5 separate regions of the Homo sapiens genome follow, and all the other regions are linked to region 1. Evidence: promoter capture Hi-C in 16 types of primary human blood cells and fetal thymus (Javierre and others, 2016). All regions are on one chromosome and are shown on one strand. Each heading gives the region's core, a stretch centred on a gene start or on the middle of the fragment in contact. The rest is flanking DNA. Distances are from core to core; before and after follow the strand shown.

Region 1 (3,403 bases), core at 529-3,028:
CTGTCCACCCTCCCAAAGCAAAGTAAAAATAGAACCTTGGTTAGTGCTTGCTAAATATTGGTCCTGAAGACAGAACACTCACATTCTCCCTCATTCCCGCTGTCTTATATACATAGACCTATCAAGACACACCCATAGATAACCACAAATGCAAAAACACAGAAAATACACAAAAACACACACCAGTACACATGCACAGATTATTAAGACACAATATATGAAAATAGATACTAGCTCCCATACTCATAAACTCACACAGATACATACAACACTCATACACACAGACTCACAAACATGTTTATGCATTCATACACAGCCTCCCCCACCCACTACTCATGCAGGAAAATAAATGCATGCTTTAATTAACATACACGGGTTCACACATAAATCTCATCCTGCTGGTCTGGTTGAAGACCAATGACTAATGGGAAACCATGCACAAAGCCAAACATCACGTAGGGGAGGCCGGGATTGGGTTAGCAGTGGGGCTTGAATTAAGCCCCATCAGATGACAAACCCGCCCTGCCTGGCTTCCTCTGGAAGCTGCTGAGCCGAAGCAGCAGCGCCTGACCTAGCTCTGGATCCTGGGCGGATGATGCGAGGCTGCGTGCCCGAATTCCAGCTTGATTCAGGGTTTAGTGTCATCCAGGGTCAAGCTCGGCTATTAGCCCCACCCCAACCCCTGCAACCAGCCGGAGGCTCTGGGGGCACTGAAGGGCTGTGGCCTGGGGCTGCTTTCTAATCCTGGGCTTGCCCTGGCGCAAATGCTGAGAATAGTTAGCATTAATGAGGGTTACAACAGTGGGCCAGGCTCTGGGCTAAGCCCTTTACGTCCATGACTTAATTCTCACAACAGCTCTGTGAGGGGGGTGGGGGGTGAGGGGTGTCCTATCATCTCCATTTTAGTGGTGAAAAAACCGCGCTCAGGCCACAAAACCATTCAGCAAAAGACATCAAGTTGAGGTTCAACCCTGTCTGATCCTATTCTTCCCGGGGTTTAGGTAAGTGTGCTTGCGAGCCTGTCTCCTCCACGCAGGAAGCTTGCACCTTCTGCCCTCAGGGGTCTCCACCGCCCGGTCCCGCCCCCTTGTCCAGTCTGGCACAACACCTGGCCCACAGCAGGTTTCTGGTGAGGGCGTGGGTCTCGGTTCAGGGAGGCCCTCAGCAAGGGCCTCAGCTTCCCCATCTCTGAAATGGGAATGGCGGCAGAGACCTCGCAAGGCTGCGACCAGGCTCTCTGGAGCAGCAGAGGGCATGCCAAGCTCTACATCGTCGCTGCCGCTGCCCTCTCCCATCGCGGGGTTCCCGCGCGGTCCCCGCCCGAGCTGGGGTGCGGCGCTGGCGCCCCATTGTTCAGGAGGGCGGGGATGCTCCCGAGTGCTGATTCCACCCCCCGCTCGTGCTCGCAGCCCGGTGGAGCAGATGACTAGGCCCGGCGTCTGCCGCGCGGGGCGCATCCTTTGTCTGCTCCGCGGCGCCCGGTGCCCGAGGCCCGCGCCCCACTCTTTGGGCAGACAAAGCCGGGGCCGCCGCGAGCCCGGCGGGCTAGAGCTGGGCTCGCACCACCCTTCTCCCGCCTCACGGACCGCCCCCTCTCCTGGACGTCCTCTGATTGGCCTACGGGGCTACAAAGAGGCCGGGAAGCGGGCGGATCACGTGGGCGACTGTGGCTTCCCATTGGTTAGGCGCGGCTGCCAATCGAGGAGGGCGGGCGGTCCGCGCTCGGTCCGGTCGCTCCCTCCGCGCTGGGGCCCGCCCGCGGGGCCGGCCGCCTGTCAGAGGGAGGTGGCGATGGTGCGCCCGGTGGCGGTGGCGGCGGCGGTTGCGGAGGCTTCCTTGGTCGGATTGCAACGAGGAGAAGATGACTGACCAACCGACTGGCTGAATGAATGAATGGCGGAGCCGAGCGCGCCATGAGGAGCCTGCCGAGCCTGGGCGGCCTCGCCCTGTTGTGCTGCGCCGCCGCCGCCGCCGCCGCCGCCGTCGCCTCAGCCGCCTCGGCGGGGAATGTCACCGGTGGCGGCGGGGCCGCGGGGCAGGTGGACGCGTCGCCGGGCCCCGGGTTGCGGGGCGAGCCCAGCCACCCCTTCCCTAGGGCGACGGCTCCCACGGCCCAGGCCCCGAGGACCGGGCCCCCGCGCGCCACCGTCCACCGACCCCTGGCTGCGACTTCTCCAGCCCAGTCCCCGGAGACCACCCCTCTTTGGGCGACTGCTGGACCCTCTTCCACCACCTTTCAGGCGCCGCTCGGCCCCTCGCCGACCACCCCTCCGGCGGCGGAACGCACTTCGACCACCTCTCAGGCGCCGACCAGACCCGCGCCGACCACCCTTTCGACGACCACTGGCCCGGCGCCGACCACCCCTGTAGCGACCACCGTACCGGCGCCCACGACTCCCCGGACCCCGACCCCCGATCTCCCCAGCAGCAGCAACAGCAGCGTCCTCCCCACCCCACCTGCCACCGAGGCCCCCTCTTCGCCTCCTCCAGGTGAGTCCGGCGCTCCCTCTCGGGCAGGACCCGTCCTCACCTCAGCCCCGGCAATCTAGGGTTGGGCTCTTGCCTATAATTTATCGTTTGTTACCCCAAAGACACCCCAGGTTCCGGCTCCCGAGGGGGGATCCCAGGTCCAGCTAGTCTCCCTCCCGCCCCCGATCAATCTGGAAAGTCTTTTGTCCCCCGTGGGCTGTGCTCCCTCGGGAGGGGGTGGCTGCTGGGTGGAAGGCATCTCATCTTCTTCCCAACAGGGCTTTCTGGCCTTTTTCAGAGACCAGAATGGGCGCAAACTTTTGGGTTGGGTTCGCGCACCCAGCCTCTCTGCCTGGGTTATTTGGGGAAGTTTGAAAGCCCGCATAGTACCTCCTTCAACCACTGGGTCAAAAGCTGAGGGTAAGGAATTCCTCCCAAAGCTCCAGTTTCCCTGTTCATTTCTTCTTGTTTATGTAAATATCAGATGTGTGTGTATGACAGGTGGAAGAGAGGTAGTGAGAGGATTTTGTTTACAAACAGTAGTATGGACCACTTGAGGGCAAAAAATAAAAACAAAAAAGGCATTGTAATCCATGTTGTCCCTGCAAATAAGTGGATTCAGTAGGTCATTTGGGACAGGTGTGTATCTAGGCTGAGCACATTTACAAATTAGGTTAAATCTCTTCCTCGCACCATTTTTTTCTTCCACAATTATAAGGTCAACATGTTTGGCCAAATACACCATTTAAGCAAGGATGCCTATTTTTGTCTCCTTAAGCCAGGATGTTCAACTTTGCTGATGCTGATATATGCCAATTTCTGTTTGAGCCCACGTAGAAAAGGCTTTTCTTGCTGAAGTCTTCAAGCAAAGTTAAAGACAACTCGTATTCTTTCCCCGTTTAAATCTTAAGTGGGCCTAGGACTAAAACAAAAC
Region 2 (3,403 bases), core at 379-2,878, 240 kb before region 1:
CTCATCTTAAAGGATCAGCCTCTGAACTTAACATCTAACAAAGGTTTATCTTGTTTGTTTGTTTTATGTGCTTCTGTTATTTTATTAAATATGTCTCTTATTCTAATCAGCCTGTTCTATAACATTGGCCAGGGCTAATGATTCTAATAGATTGAGAGATTGAATCAGACTGAGGGGATTGGGGAAGGCTTCTTGGAGGAAATAAGAACTATAATAGTTTGCCATGCTTCATTTCTCGTGTTTGACAAATTCTGGCTTCTACTGGACATAGCATTAATAGTATTAAGACTGAATTGTTTCATTGTTGTTTGTCTTTTGCCAGCTTATAAAGTTAGCATCACATCCATCACTGTAGAAAATGTTTTTGTCAAGTACAAGGCAACCCTTCTGGATATCTACAAAACTGGTGAGAATTCATTCGTTCATTCGTTCCTTCATTCAGCAACTATTTAGTACTGACTATGTGCCAGGCATTATATTAAACACAGAAGATACAACTCAAATAAGACAGAGCTCTTGCCTTTTTAAAGCTTATATTCTACTTGGGGAGAAACATTTTTTAAAGATGTTCGTATAAATATTTCTCATTGAATTCATTTTTCTAAAACTTCAGCAAAATGTTTTTTTCAATTGCGTAATTGTCCAATTTCTTTTTCTTTACAACTTTTATTTTAGGTTCAGGGGATACGTGTGCAAATTTGCTACATGGGTAAATTGCATGTTTTGGGGGTTTGGTATATAGATCATTTTGTCACCCAGGTAATAAGCATAGTACCCAATAGGTAATTTTTCAATCCTCACCCTCTACCCTCAAGTAGGCTCTGCTGTCTAGTGTTCCCTTCTTTGTGTCCATGTGTACTCACTGTTTAGTTCCCACTTATAAGTGAAAATATGTGATATTTGGTTTTCTGTTACTGTGTTAATTCACTTAGGATAGTGGCTTTATTTCTGGGTGCTGTAACCTGTTCCATTGGTCTACGTGTCTTTTTTTGTATCAGTAACATGTTGCTTTGGTTACTGTAGCCTTGTAATATAGTTTGAAATCAGGTAGTAGGAGGCATCTAGCTTTGTTCTTTTTGCTTAGAATTCCTTTGGCTATTCAAGTTCTTTCTTTGTTCCATATGAATATTAAAATGTTTTTTTCTAATTTTATGAAAAATGATAGGAATAGCATTAAATCTGTAAATTGCTTTGGACAGTATGGCCATTTTAACAATATTAATTCTTCCTATCCATGAGCGTGGAATGTTTTTCCATTTGTTTGTGTCATCTCTGATTTCTTTGAGCAGTGTTTTGTAATTCTCATTGTAGAGATCATTCACCTCCCTAGTTAGCTGTATTCCTAGGCATTTTTGTGTGTGTGTGGCTATTGTGAATGGGATTACATTTTTTTTTTTGAAATGACGTTTCACTCTGTCACCCAGGCTGGAGCGCAGTGGCACGATCTTGGCTCACTGCAAACTCTGTTTCCCAGGTTCAAGTGATTCTCCTGCCTCAGCCTCCTGAGTAGCTGGGATTACAGACATGCACCACCACGCCTGACTTATTTTTGTATCTTAGCGGAGATGGGGTCTTACATGTTGGCCAGGCTGGTCCTGAACTCCTAGGCTCAAGTGATCCACTCGCCTCAGCCTCCTGAAATGCTGGGATTACGTGTGTGAGCCACCGTGCCTGGCCTCATTTCGATTGATATAAATTTTGCAATAAGTAGGACCATAAAGCTAAATTGCAATAATATGTTTATACTAAATTTTTTTCTCTTTTGAAATTCTATCAAATATTTCAAGTCCTAAAATGCTTGATTTTTTTTCTTTTGAGACGGGGTCTCACTATGTTGTTCAGGCTGGTCTCAAACTCCTAGGCTCAAGGGATCCTCTCTCCTCAGCCTCCCAGCTTGATTATTACTAACCATACCCTAGAGTTTAAAATTCTAGTAATATTTTTCAATTTTGTATTTGCTTTATCAACACTTTGATAATTTTTTTTAAATTTTTGTTATTTTGAAAGTTTCATTGTATGAAACTTATTTGTGAAGTTATTTTATTTTTTTCTTCATTGATGGTCACAATTTTTTAATTTGCAGGCTAGTTGCCATTCTAATGAAATAAGTGTTTAGAACTTTGATGTTGCCACAGTCCAACTTTTGAGCAACATTTTCATCCAATGTTCATATTACAAGCAGTAATAAGCCATTCTCTTTTTACTGAAATAACAAAGTGCTTTTCATTCCAGAAATACAAATTATTTGTTTTATTTGATACTGATTCTTGCATAGTATCAAAAGACATTTTAGACTGTTCTGAATTTTTCATAGCATCGGATGGTTCCCAAGCTACAATTTTTTTATTAGTATCATTTCTTCTTTGTTCTCCTGTAGATCCAAAGATGCATTTTATGATATTTAAAAGGAAATGTTAAGAAACATTGGCATACTTCATCTCCTCATTCTGGGCCCATTTTTAACACATAAATTTTGAATTTTTATAAATATAAAAATACCACACACTACTTACAGAAGAATTGTGGCACAGTGACCATAAGCCATTTAGAATCAAGGGCAAACTGTAGTTTGAGGATAAGGATAAATTGGTATTTCTCCAAAGCACAGAGTGCTTAGAATAGGTAAGGATATAGAAGAATAAAAGTTTAGTTATTGTTGAAGCCCAGGGTAGTTGCCTGTTCTCTCTTCTGAATATACTTTAAATTTTCCATGATGAGAAGCTTAAAAAATAATAAGGCCCCACACAGCTACACTGCTTACTATGACAGGGGCTGAAATGGCAGATAGTACTGGTAATGTTGCTCAGATATTGACGTAATAGGAATCTACACCATCAGGGCAGCCTAAGAAATCAGCTTGAACTAATGGGTGTACACTGAAATTTATATCACTAATGAAAGTTTACCATTTACACAGTTTCTATTATACACTATTTGCCAATTGGTTCAGAAGTTTTTCAGGACTTAACAATTAAGATGACTCTGCCAGAACTTAATAGTTAAATATCAGCCCTGTATATATAGCGATAAATCAGACACAGTCCATGCCTTAAGAAGTTTCTAGTCTAGCTAGAAGGACAGATGTGGGACAAAAAATTGTGACAGAAATTCAAGTGTAAAAGAGGTAAAGAGGAGACAGAAAGATATTTAAAACAAAGAGCATCCAGGAATATTTTACTGGATACTGTGAGAATTGAAGGAGACTTTCAAGATAAATGAAATTCAAGAGGCCAACATGGGGAGGAATGCATTCCAGGTAGGGGAACTGGCTACTTGTGAGTTCTTTGAGAATCCCAAAATTACTATCTTTGAAGTTTTCCAAGTCTTTCACATTTTGTACTTTTCCACAAAGTTAACAGTTGCCAAATACCAAATAATTTTATATTTTACTATATAATGTGGA
Region 3 (3,403 bases), core at 343-2,842, 230 kb before region 1:
AGACCAGTGAGGAGCTGGTGCCATTGTCATGTGACAGGTAACAGTAGCTTCAACTAGAAAGGAAGAAATGGAGATGAAGAGACAGGGATGAATTCAGGATAGTTTTGGAAGTGGTGCTGAGAGGATTTGCTGAAGGAATCAGGGTGGGGTAATGAATGCAGAGGAGTCAAGGATTACTCACGGATTCCTGGCTTGCACTGCTGCAGATGCCATTTACACAGCTGGAGAAGACAGGAGAAGGTACACATTTAGGAAAACAAGGAAAGAAGATGTTATGGGTTGAACACTACGTCACTCAAAAAGATATGTTGAAATTCAAATCTACAGTACCTCAGAGTAGGACCTGATTTGGAAATAAGTTTGTTGCATGTGTAATTAGCTAAGGTAAGATGAAGTCACACTGGAATAGGGTGGCTCTTAATCTAAAATGACAGGTGTCCTTATGAGAAGAGGGAAATGTAGACACAGGGATACGCAGAGAAAACCTCACGTGAAGATGCAGACACTGGGAGAGGACGGTCGCATGCAGACAGAGGTAGAAATTGGAGTAATGCATGTACAAACCAAGGAAGGCAAAGAACCACTGCTGTCACCTGAAGCCAGGAGAGAGGCACGGGACGGGTCCGCCCTCAGAGCCGGCCAGAAGAAACCAACCCTGCCGAAACTGCTTTCAGACTTCTAACCTCCAGCCCCGTGTGAGAATACATCTCTGTTGTTTCAAGCCACCCAGTTTGTGGCACTTTGTTACCCAGTGCTCACAAGCAAATACAGAAGAGAAGAAGGATTTCTGTCAGGGCTTTGTTATGTTTAAGAAGCCTTTTAGACATTCTTGTGGAGATATCAAGTAGGAATTAGCCTAGAATTACTATGAATCTAGAATTATGGTATATAAAGCAATACCACTGTAATTTATTGAAGTACTTTGTGTGATATAAAAAACCTGACATATAAATTAATAGTTCGAAAGGGGGAAATTGTAATTATTACTCATAATTACATGTAAATGACAGAATGCATATTCCATGAAATATTATGCAGCCTCTAAAAAGAATCATTTTAAAGACTAGGTAGGAGCATGAAAAATGCTTATGATCATCACAAAGGCAGTGATTGCCACTTTGTAATAACTGCCTACGAATGGGAAGCAGATGTCAAACTTTATGGATTCAAATCATAGCTTCAGCTCTTCTGAGTGCCCTGAGATACACAGCATGTCAGTATCCTGTGCATTATGTGTGTTCCCTGTATTTGCAGCACCAGGGTAAATGAACACAAGGCTGAATTGCAAAGTGCTGAGATGATAAAGTAAAGAAGTAATCGGAGTAGACATAGAATTAAGCAAGGATAACTTCCTGGAAGCACATGGCCTGGGACAGGAAGCTTATCATGGGCCAGACATAGTGCCAGCATCAAGGGTACACTCAGGACAAGCCCCTGTAAGTCCTTCTCTGGAAACACATCTGTGCTGGAGCTCCTGCCACCCACAGCCTTCTCATTGATTTCTTATCATGGCCTTCTATCCCACTGTGAGCTCCTGGCGGACAGGGGCTGTATCTTGTTCTTCTCTGTATCCTAAGCACAAGACCTGACACTTGGTAGGTATAAATTAATGACAATTAATAGAACATCAGAACCATAATTTTACTGTCTTTGTTTACAAGAACTTGCAACAAAGGCACGTTAATACTGAGTCCCTCAACCTGTGAACATGAGAATACCGAGCAATTAAGGGTTTAAAGCCTGAAGCACAGCTGATCTTTCAGGTAATGGTTAAGTGCCTTTATCTGAGGTAAGCCCAAGCTTTTAGTTGCTTTGGAAGATGTGATAGAGGCAAACAACACCAATTAGAAAAATATAATGGAAGGAGAGATCCCATTTTACAAAAGCAAATATAATTGCTAAATTAAGTAAGTAGGACTCCCTGTGCATACTCATAAGTCAACTTTGTTTTGCCTTCCAGCTCCCTATAAAGATTTATTCAAAGGGAAGGGAGAGATATCCTTTCTCTATCCTTTAAGGAAAACTCAAGCATCTTATGACTGTTGTGATCACTCTTAGGAACTAAAAAGTCCTATGATCACTTCAGTCACCAAACAACTCTATTCATAAATTTGATGTTCAGTCCCATACAAAAGCAAAATTCTCAACTTGATTTAAAATACAATCTTCTCTCCCAAACAGGGCTTGCTGCAGGTTTGGGACCCCTATAGCTGGGAATAGTGTCACGGGCAGCTGCTTCTTTCCCTGGAGTTTCCTTCTCAGCTTACTAAGGCTGTTTAGTGTGGCTGCTTCTTTCTTTAAGATTGTAATAAATTTAAAATGCGTAACATAAGATTTACCATCTTAACTACTCCCAAGTGCACAGTTCAGTAGTGTTGAGTATATTCACATTGCTGTGCAAGCTGTGACTTCTGACCTCTCCAGCACTAGAGGGATTGGTAGGGAGGAAAGGTAGAAGAAAGGGGAGCAGAAGAGCTTACTTGACCAGTACTGCCATAAGATGGCTTTCAAGGGCTTTAAAGCAGACTCGGACTCTTTCATGGGCATGTCCATGGGCTTTTTAGACACTCCCCCAATCTCTCTCTCTCTTTTTATTTTTGAGAAGAAGTCTTGCTCTGTCACCCAGGCTAGAGTGCAATGGCATGATCTTGGCTCACTGCAACCTTCACCTCCCAGGTTCAAGTGATTCTTATGCCTCAGCATCCTGAGTAGCTGGGATTACAGGCGTGCACCACCATGCCAGGATAATTTTTGTATTTTTAGTAGAGATGGGGTTTCACCATGTTGGCCAGGCTGATCTTGAACTCCTGACCTCAAGTGATCCACCCGTTTTGGCCTCCCAAAGTGCTGGGATTACAAGTGTGAGCCACTGTGCTGGGCCACTCCCCCAGTCTCTAAAGACCTTTCACCATTCCACGTTCATTGCACCACACTGTATCCCATCGTTCACTCCTTCTGCCGCCGTAGGAATCCAGCAATGTGTTCAGTTTGTCACCCTCCCCCACTGGACAAAACTAAGAGGCCTTTCACATCAGCTTCCTTGTGCATGGCCTGCTTCTAGTCCATGGGAACAGCGTTCTTTGCCCACACCAACTTTAGGAATTGAGGCTGATCTGAGCAGAGCCACCTCTCCTTTGTCTTGTTTGTCTAAAATGGTGCCCATATCTCATTGTTAAGATTTCTTGGGTGGCTGGTATATGCTATCATGAGACAAAGCTCACCATGTTTCCCCTTCTCAAACTACCATTGACATTATTATGTGCATGCATACACACACACACACACACACACACACACACACACACACACTCATACCCATATAGGAGAATCCAAGATGAATCCAACACTGTTTCTTAAGGGATTCAGTCTATTAGGGGAACTACAACATGTGCCCATGAGACAA
Region 4 (3,403 bases), core at 558-3,057, 160 kb before region 1:
CACCCGGGGGCCCCCGCCCGGCCAGGGTGGAGGCGGGTGCGGCGACCCGGCCGGCTCCTAGAGGCGCAGCGGGAGAGGAAGTGTCAGTTTGTGAACCTGCAGCGGCCCCGGCCTGGCCCCTGGCCGGGCGGGCGGGGACCTCGCAGCGCCGGGCGAGCCAGGTGGCAGGGAGAGGACAGGGATTCAGACCGCATCCCCTGCCCGGGAGCCTGTGCGCTCTGCGCTGGAGAAAAAGGAGATGGGAGTGGGGGTGGAGAAGGTCGTGGCCACGCCACCATCTGGGGAGCCGAGACCCCTGCAGTGCCTGGCTCGCCCCAGGGCCCCGCACATACTTAGCTTCACACACTCCCTGGCACAATGCCGTAGACATCATCCTGCCCAGTCTCACAGGAGTACACACACGCACCACACAGAAACAGGCACTGGACTCTCTCCCTGTGAACAGATAGTCACAACACCAGGTGCCCAGCGCCATGGCCACAAGGAGGAGACCCGAGTAGGCCCGCGGGGAAAGAGAGAGGCTGTGTGTGGCTGTAGTGGAGAGCATGTGGAGGGACTTGGAGCCAGGTGAGCCCAGCAGAAAGGAGGGGGCGTTAGGGACGGCTTTGAGCACCAGTGAGGGCAGTGGGGAGCCCCAGAAAGTTTCTGGAAGGAAATTGGTGGCCCTGCGGAAGAGTCTGGTGGAGAGGCAGGAATGCAGGAACGGCCTGTTTAGCACTGGGTGCTGGTAGTACCGTTCCCCACCCTAGGTGCCTAGTGGAGGTAAGCACAAGGCCCAGGAAACTGTTATTGGGTGAATGAATGAATGAATGAATGGCCCAAGCAAAAGATGAGGCCTGAACTGAGACCAGGGCAGGAGGATGGAAGCTAGAGCTGGAAAGCCAGAAATCATGGCACTTAAAATGGGCCGGCTGTGGCAACTAATTGCTTGGAGGAGTTTGAGATGCATGAAGGCAGTACCACAGGCAGGGAGAGAGAAATCGATGGGTGAACTGCACGTTGAATAGGATGGTGAGAGACAGGCGTGGAGAGGCTGGCATGGGGATGGATGACTTCACTGCTTGGAGCAAATGTGTATCTGGGTGAAAGCATAAGTGGGTTTAAATGTCCCAGAATTGGTTTCCATTAAATCATCTCATAATTGAGAACAGAAGGGGGGATTACAAAAGACAGATGACCCAGTCTACACTAGCTACAAGCCACCCAGTTTTCCTTTCTAGGTGAATTTTCTCTGGACAGATCTCAGGTTAGGGATGGTTGCAGGGGTTGGGGGTAAAAACAAAACCCAACTGCTTGCCTGGAGAAGATCCTCCATCCAGAGCACATGGACTGTGTTTGCTTAAGGAATAAAACCTCAGCCTCCTGAGACAGGGAGTGGTTCAGGCCCGCTGGGTAGGGGACTTTGTTCTGTGTGGGTTGAGAGATCCATTCTCTTTAAAAGGTAGTGTGGTATGGGCCATGGCTCTGCCTTTGGCCCATCAGCCTCTTCTCCTTGCCACACCTGTTTCCCTATCTGTAAGATGTGAATAATAATAATGTCTCCCTCATAGGATGGTCACGAGGAATCAGTGAGATAATAACCAAGTCTGGCTTATAGCACAGGGTACAGAAATGGTGGTTTCCTTCCTTCCCCTGATGGGCTTTCTGAAGCAGGGAAGCAAGAAGCAAAAACCCTGTTCTTTCTCTCCCAGTGTCAGGGGAAGCTGATGGAGAATCGAGCTCTGGATCCAGGGACTCGGGACTCCTATGGTGCCACCAGCCACCTCCCCAACAAGGGGGCCCTGGCGAAGGTCAAGAACAACTTCAAAGACTTGATGTCCAAACTGACGGAGGGCCAGTATGTGCTGTGCCGGTGGACAGATGGCCTGTACTACCTCGGGAAGATCAAGAGGGTAAACCCATCCTCTCTGGCCCCTGTTCTCAGACTCAGAATCTCTCTGCTCATGTTCCAGCCTGGCTGTCAGACCAGGGGGCAGGGGGATTGCTGGAGAATTCCCTTCTTGTCCCTCATGCCCAAAGCTGGTGGTGGGAGGGGCCAGAGCCTGGTCTTGCAGGCACCATCCCTAGGGTCAACATCATCCAACTAGTTCTTTAGAAAAGTGCTCTGAGAGCCTACAAAACAAAAAAGTCAGGTTTGAGAGGATCACAGAGGAGCATCTGACTTGTGCTTCTGTCCTCAACATTCTGACCAAGTTGCCATCCATCGGTCCCTGGCTGTACGACTCCAGGTGACTAGGAGTACACCCTGTCCAGGAACTGCCATCCTTCTTCCCCTTCTAGCCCTGCTTTCTGGAACATACGGAGACAAAAATGGGGGAGGAAGACTATGTTCCAGGTTGGCTTTTCCCCAGCCCTTTCTCACTTGCTCCTTCCTATCTGTACCCCAGGTCAGCAGCTCTAAGCAAAGCTGCCTCGTGACTTTCGAAGATAATTCCAAATACTGGGTCCTATGGAAGGACATACAGCATGGTGAGTTTTCCTAACATTTCGGGTAGCCCCCAACCTCCCCAGGTCTTCTCTCCTCTGCTGCCTTCATTTCTTCCTTCTGTCCTTCCATCTCTTACTCCTGGCATCTGCCCTTGACCATGAACCCCAAGCCCACCTGTGATGATGATCAAATCTGGTTGTATATTGACTTAGGAAGGTACTTAGGACATGAGTCATCCCCTTGAGAATTCATACCCCAGGAGGGAGGATGGGCAGGTGGGGAAGGTAGCTTAGGGAGGTGCTGGGAGGGCCAGGACTGGGCCTCAGGCCTGCGTTTGCTTCCTGGCTGCACTACAGCTGCAGCTGCTCAAAGCTCTGCGTCAGTCTGGGCTAGAAAAGGGGGCGTGCCCAGGTATTCAGAATTGTCAGCTCTAGATGCAAGCACAGTGTCCCTGATTTAACATATGAATAAAACTAATGGAAGCAGCCTTCTCCACGGGGCAAGGAGTTGGGAGGAATGGGAGAAAAACCAATAAAGCAGAGGTGAGCCAGGCAGGGTGAAGATGGACATGCCTGGATGGAGCTAGACCAGCTTTTAGGGCTGAAATGAATCTGGGTTGGGTATCATCCCTGCCTTCAGAAAGCTGACATCTCTCCCTTGCAGAGATGGCAAGTCAGGGCCATCTTTGCCACCATTCTCCCTTCCCATACACACAACAGACATCAGTAGCCATTGACAACACATGTACTTTCAACTTGGAGCCCCAAGCAGCTACTGCCTGTCAATCAGAGTTGGCATAAGAGGAGAAACCTGTTTGCCATTTATACTCTAACAGGAGAAGAGACATGGCCCCTAGCAGGGTAAGAAGCAGATTTTAGGGTCAGGTAGACCTTGGACCAAGTTCCAGCTTTGCCACTTACTAGCTGCATTTGCAGGAGCAAGTAATATGACCTGAGTTTTAGTTTCTTCATGTGA
Region 5 (3,403 bases), core at 632-3,131, 140 kb before region 1:
GCGCTGGGACCCTTCCTCCTGAGGCCCAGGTCTTTGTCCCCAGTTGTGTGCCTTGACCTCTCTCGCCCCTTTCTGGGTGTGTTCGCACATCCTGTGTGTGCACAGCTGTCCCTCCACTGGATCCCCTTCACACGTGACCCGTGGGGCAGCCAGTCCTCCCAGGGACTACATAACAGGCACCTTTGAGAGAGCATGGGAGAAGGTGGATAAGAGGATGCTGCTCAGTGCTTTTCTCTTCCACTTTCCTGCCACTCCCCACTACCCTCGGAGAGAGGTGGTGGGATGGGAGAGAGCCCCTGTGAAAGCCTGTGAGGATCTGAAGAGTAAAGGGCTGGGTCTGCCTCAGAAGGCACCAGCACCAGGGCCCAGGTATTAAGGCTGAGAGTGAAGGCTGCCAATGTCAGCTTTGGAGGTCCCAGAAGTCTTCTGTTCTCTGGCCTCACCCCCTCAGTCGCCATAGAGCTGGGCCTGGCCTTGCTGGAATGGAGGCATCCTTCCAAACCTGGGGGACGGGGGTGGGGGGTGGTAGTGGTGGGAGGGAAACCATGTCTTGCTAAACCTGTTTCTGGTGCCTCCCATCCCCAGACCCACCAGACACCACACAGCAGACAATACACACCCACTCGCACAAGCTTCCATCCACATGTGTTGTACTTTCAGCTCTAGGCATGCAGACAACCCCACACGGCCACACCACCACATGCCCAAGTGTACACACACAGAGCCACACCGTCCCTCTGGGCCTGCTGGCTCCTCCCTTGGCTTTCCCTTGGCCCACTTCCAGGGCCCAGGTGCTGCAACTAAATGTGAAAGCTCAGTGGCCGCTCCTTCTTTCAGCCCATCAACCAGCATTGGTCCCATAGGGAAGCACAGGGGACTCACCCTCTTTCATATCCCTTGCCCTGCCCTGAAATGGACAATCACTTTTTGGGATAGGTTGAAATTTTTAAAGAGCCTGCATCATTTGGTTCCCTCAAAGGGAAGCCCTTGCCAGTGGGGGTTTGAAAGAGAATTTTTGGAACCAACATTCAAATTCTGCCTCATCTGGAGGGAAACCAAAATTGGGAGGGGGAAGAGGACCCCTGATGTTTTGCTGCTTCCAGAGATATTAGAAACTGACTCACTTGATTGGAAAATGGACAAAAGTGCCTTGACGTGGAGGGTGGGCACCAGATGGGGACCAGCCTTGCCAACTGCTGCTGTGGCCTCCAGCTTGGCTGGTTTTGCAGGCCGCCAGCAGGAAGGCGAAGGTGGTAGTACAGCAAGAGGCACTGGCGGGGCAGCAGGCCTGCAGGAGCTGTTTTTCCATTGCTAGGCCTGACCCCTCTCTACCTGTGAGCGTTCAGGGGGTCCCTGAGATAGTTTAGATGCCCCCCCATCTTAGACCTCAGCTCCCACAGTGCCTTTTAAGGGGGACCTCACCTCCTGTGCACAGCCCACCCACTTTCCTCTGCTTCCCTGGCACAGCCCAGGCATAGACGAGCTGGCGTTGGACCCAGTTCTTCCCCCTTTTCAGCCCCACAGCTGCTGCCACAGGGGCCAACTAGGGCCAGGTGGAAGGGGAGCTGAGAAGCCAACCCCTAGCCCAGGGGTGCTGTGGGAACTGGGATCCAATTTGTAGCTTCCTGCCTGGCTTCAGAGAGCCCAGCAACCTTCTAGGCCTGCTTTCCAGACTTCTGAGATAGCCTGGGATGAGCAATCCTGTTATAGTACATCTGGACCTTCCCTACCTGGGCTCTGGGGAGGCTGTGGGCCTGGAGAGGGAAAAGGAGGGAGGGGGTGTCTGCACCACCTGGGAAGATAGCACAAGGCCTAATGAGGTCACCCTGACTCCCCACCCCAGCATTTCATTCATACCAGATAATAGCTGCATTACTGCCAACTGACCTTATAACCCTCTGCACCTTCAAAAAGATTCATGGTTTTTAATTGCTGCTTTTAATAACATTTGTTAAAGTTATAATTAATGTGTCTGATTTATGATTTAAAACCTCCCTTTGAACAATCACTTGTCTTCCCTATAGTGAATTAGCTGCTGGGTGGCAGAAGGAATTGGCTCTGGCTTTTGCACTTGGTTTACTGGAGGCTGAGGAGGAATGGCAGGACCCTGTCCTCTGGCCACCTTGCCACTCCTACCACTGCCAGCAACATTCTCACCCTTACTGCCAGAGAGAATATGGAATCTTTTGTGAGTACCCGACCTTTGGGGGCAAAAAACATTAGTTGAGTGCCACTGAGAGGTAAAAGATGGAAAATGAACTTAGAAATTGACACTATTATAATACTTAGATCCGGGCATCGTAAAACTTTATCAGTACATCATCACACAATTCTAGAAATATGAAATGAGTTCTAGACCTGACTCTGCTAGTTCTAACCTGTGCCACTTTAGTCAGATTCCTTTCCTTCAGTTTTATCACCCTTCAAATGGCAGTGATAATCCCAGCACATCTGCTCCCCATGTGTTGGGAGAGACTTTGCTGTGTGTGACTGATTATTACTTCAAAATAAACCTCTAAATTTAGGGCAGTTTGGAGAGGAAAAAAACAGGAGATGTAAAGGGGTAGGAAAAAGGTCATCTATAGAGAGGTAAAGGCCATGGATTCCACTGAATTCTACAGTTTGAGGGGTAAAGTGTAACCTGTAATCCCGAATGAAGGACTCAGTGGTGTTAATATCTGCCCTTAAACGTCTTCATTCACTATGGCTCCCACTTCTTTCTACCACTCCATCAGCTTCAACCTTTTATCTGTCCTCAGAATAAAACCACAATGGGACTTGGGGGTGGTGGTGGTTATTCTCTGGGCTATAATTAATGGAATGGAATGAAAAGTGGCACCAGGTGTCAAAAGACCTGGGTTCTAGTGCAAGGTCTGCAATAAGCAGCTATATGGACCCTCCTAAGATCAGTGGGCCTCCCAGGCTAGAGAGTGCCTGCTTTTCTGTAGTCTAGTGTTTCCAAATTCACAACAAACATTTACCTTCGGAAATTAGGGACAAAGAAGTAGAATTCTCAGAAATCCCCCAAATTATAAGTTATTCTTCAAATACTTCATTCTTTATACTGTTTTCCTCATTATTATAGGTATCTGGAAAAACTTTGTTTGCTAAGTAGACATATTAAGCTTATTTTTACTTACAAAGAACTGTAGCGTACAGAGAATATTTAAAAGACAGGAAGATGCCAGGGAACATATATTGGATAGTGTTCAAATAAATATAACATTTGAATAGCCTAGAGCAAGGTAAACAGAATATAGAATCAATCGTGTCCAGACTGTTAACTTATTTTGCTTCCAAAGTTTATTTCTCGGAACACCATAAGATTTGTATAAAGTATGGTAGGTTGTTTATCAAATCATTTTGTTTGCAAGAACTCACCATTAGCAGCTGATATGGCCAG

Evidence for each region. Contacts are between HindIII fragments. The CHiCAGO score rates a contact against its expected background, and 5 or more counts as called.
Region 2: a fragment that was not itself captured here is called in contact with the fragment with the promoter of MEGF9 in region 1 in 7 of 17 cell types (monocytes, activated CD4 T cells, naive CD8 T cells and 4 more); the score reaches 8.0 in monocytes.
Region 3: a contact is called between a fragment that was not itself captured here and the fragment with the promoter of MEGF9 in region 1, in 4 of 17 cell types (monocytes, non-activated CD4 T cells, neutrophils and 1 more). The highest score is 8.4, in monocytes.
Region 4: a contact is called between a fragment that was not itself captured here and the fragment with the promoter of MEGF9 in region 1, in 1 of 17 cell types (monocytes). The highest score is 7.0, in monocytes.
Region 5: a contact is called between a fragment that was not itself captured here and the fragment with the promoter of MEGF9 in region 1, in 1 of 17 cell types (monocytes). The highest score is 5.4, in monocytes.

What each region holds. Positions count from the first base shown.
Region 1 is chr9:120,712,845-120,716,247 of GRCh38, reverse strand. MEGF9 (multiple EGF like domains 9) reads left to right here and starts at 1,778. Exons shown (of 6, transcript NM_001080497.3): 1 at 1,778-2,490. The coding sequence starts at 1,890. RefSeq lists a silencer at 1,241-2,090. The HindIII fragment of the contact is 2,825 bases long and covers 1,043-3,403 here.
Region 2 is chr9:120,954,288-120,957,690 of GRCh38, reverse strand. C5 (complement C5) reads left to right here. Exons shown (of 41, transcript NM_001735.3): 39 at 323-406. Among named protein-coding and RNA genes, the nearest start is that of C5-OT1, 3.2 kb to the right of the region's middle. The HindIII fragment of the contact is 2,191 bases long and covers 533-2,723 here.
Region 3 is chr9:120,938,028-120,941,430 of GRCh38, reverse strand. No RefSeq gene overlaps it. Among named protein-coding and RNA genes, the nearest start is that of TRAF1, 13 kb to the right of the region's middle. The HindIII fragment of the contact is 420 bases long and covers 1,383-1,802 here.
Region 4 is chr9:120,873,045-120,876,447 of GRCh38, reverse strand. It overlaps PHF19 (PHD finger protein 19), which reads left to right. Exons shown (of 15, transcript NM_015651.3): 2 at 1,692-1,892; 3 at 2,388-2,469. The coding sequence starts at 1,707. Among named protein-coding and RNA genes, the nearest start is that of PHF19, 2.4 kb to the left of the region's middle. RefSeq lists a silencer at 1-240 and enhancers at 1-423, 2,234-2,859, 2,860-3,403. The HindIII fragment of the contact is 4,096 bases long and covers 1-3,403 here.
Region 5 is chr9:120,854,256-120,857,658 of GRCh38, reverse strand. It overlaps PHF19 (PHD finger protein 19), which reads left to right. Exons shown (of 15, transcript NM_015651.3): 15 at 1-2,008. It also overlaps the pseudogene CUTALP. Among named protein-coding and RNA genes, the nearest start is that of PSMD5, 13 kb to the right of the region's middle. RefSeq lists enhancers at 923-1,422, 1,423-1,924. The HindIII fragment of the contact is 2,493 bases long and covers 635-3,127 here.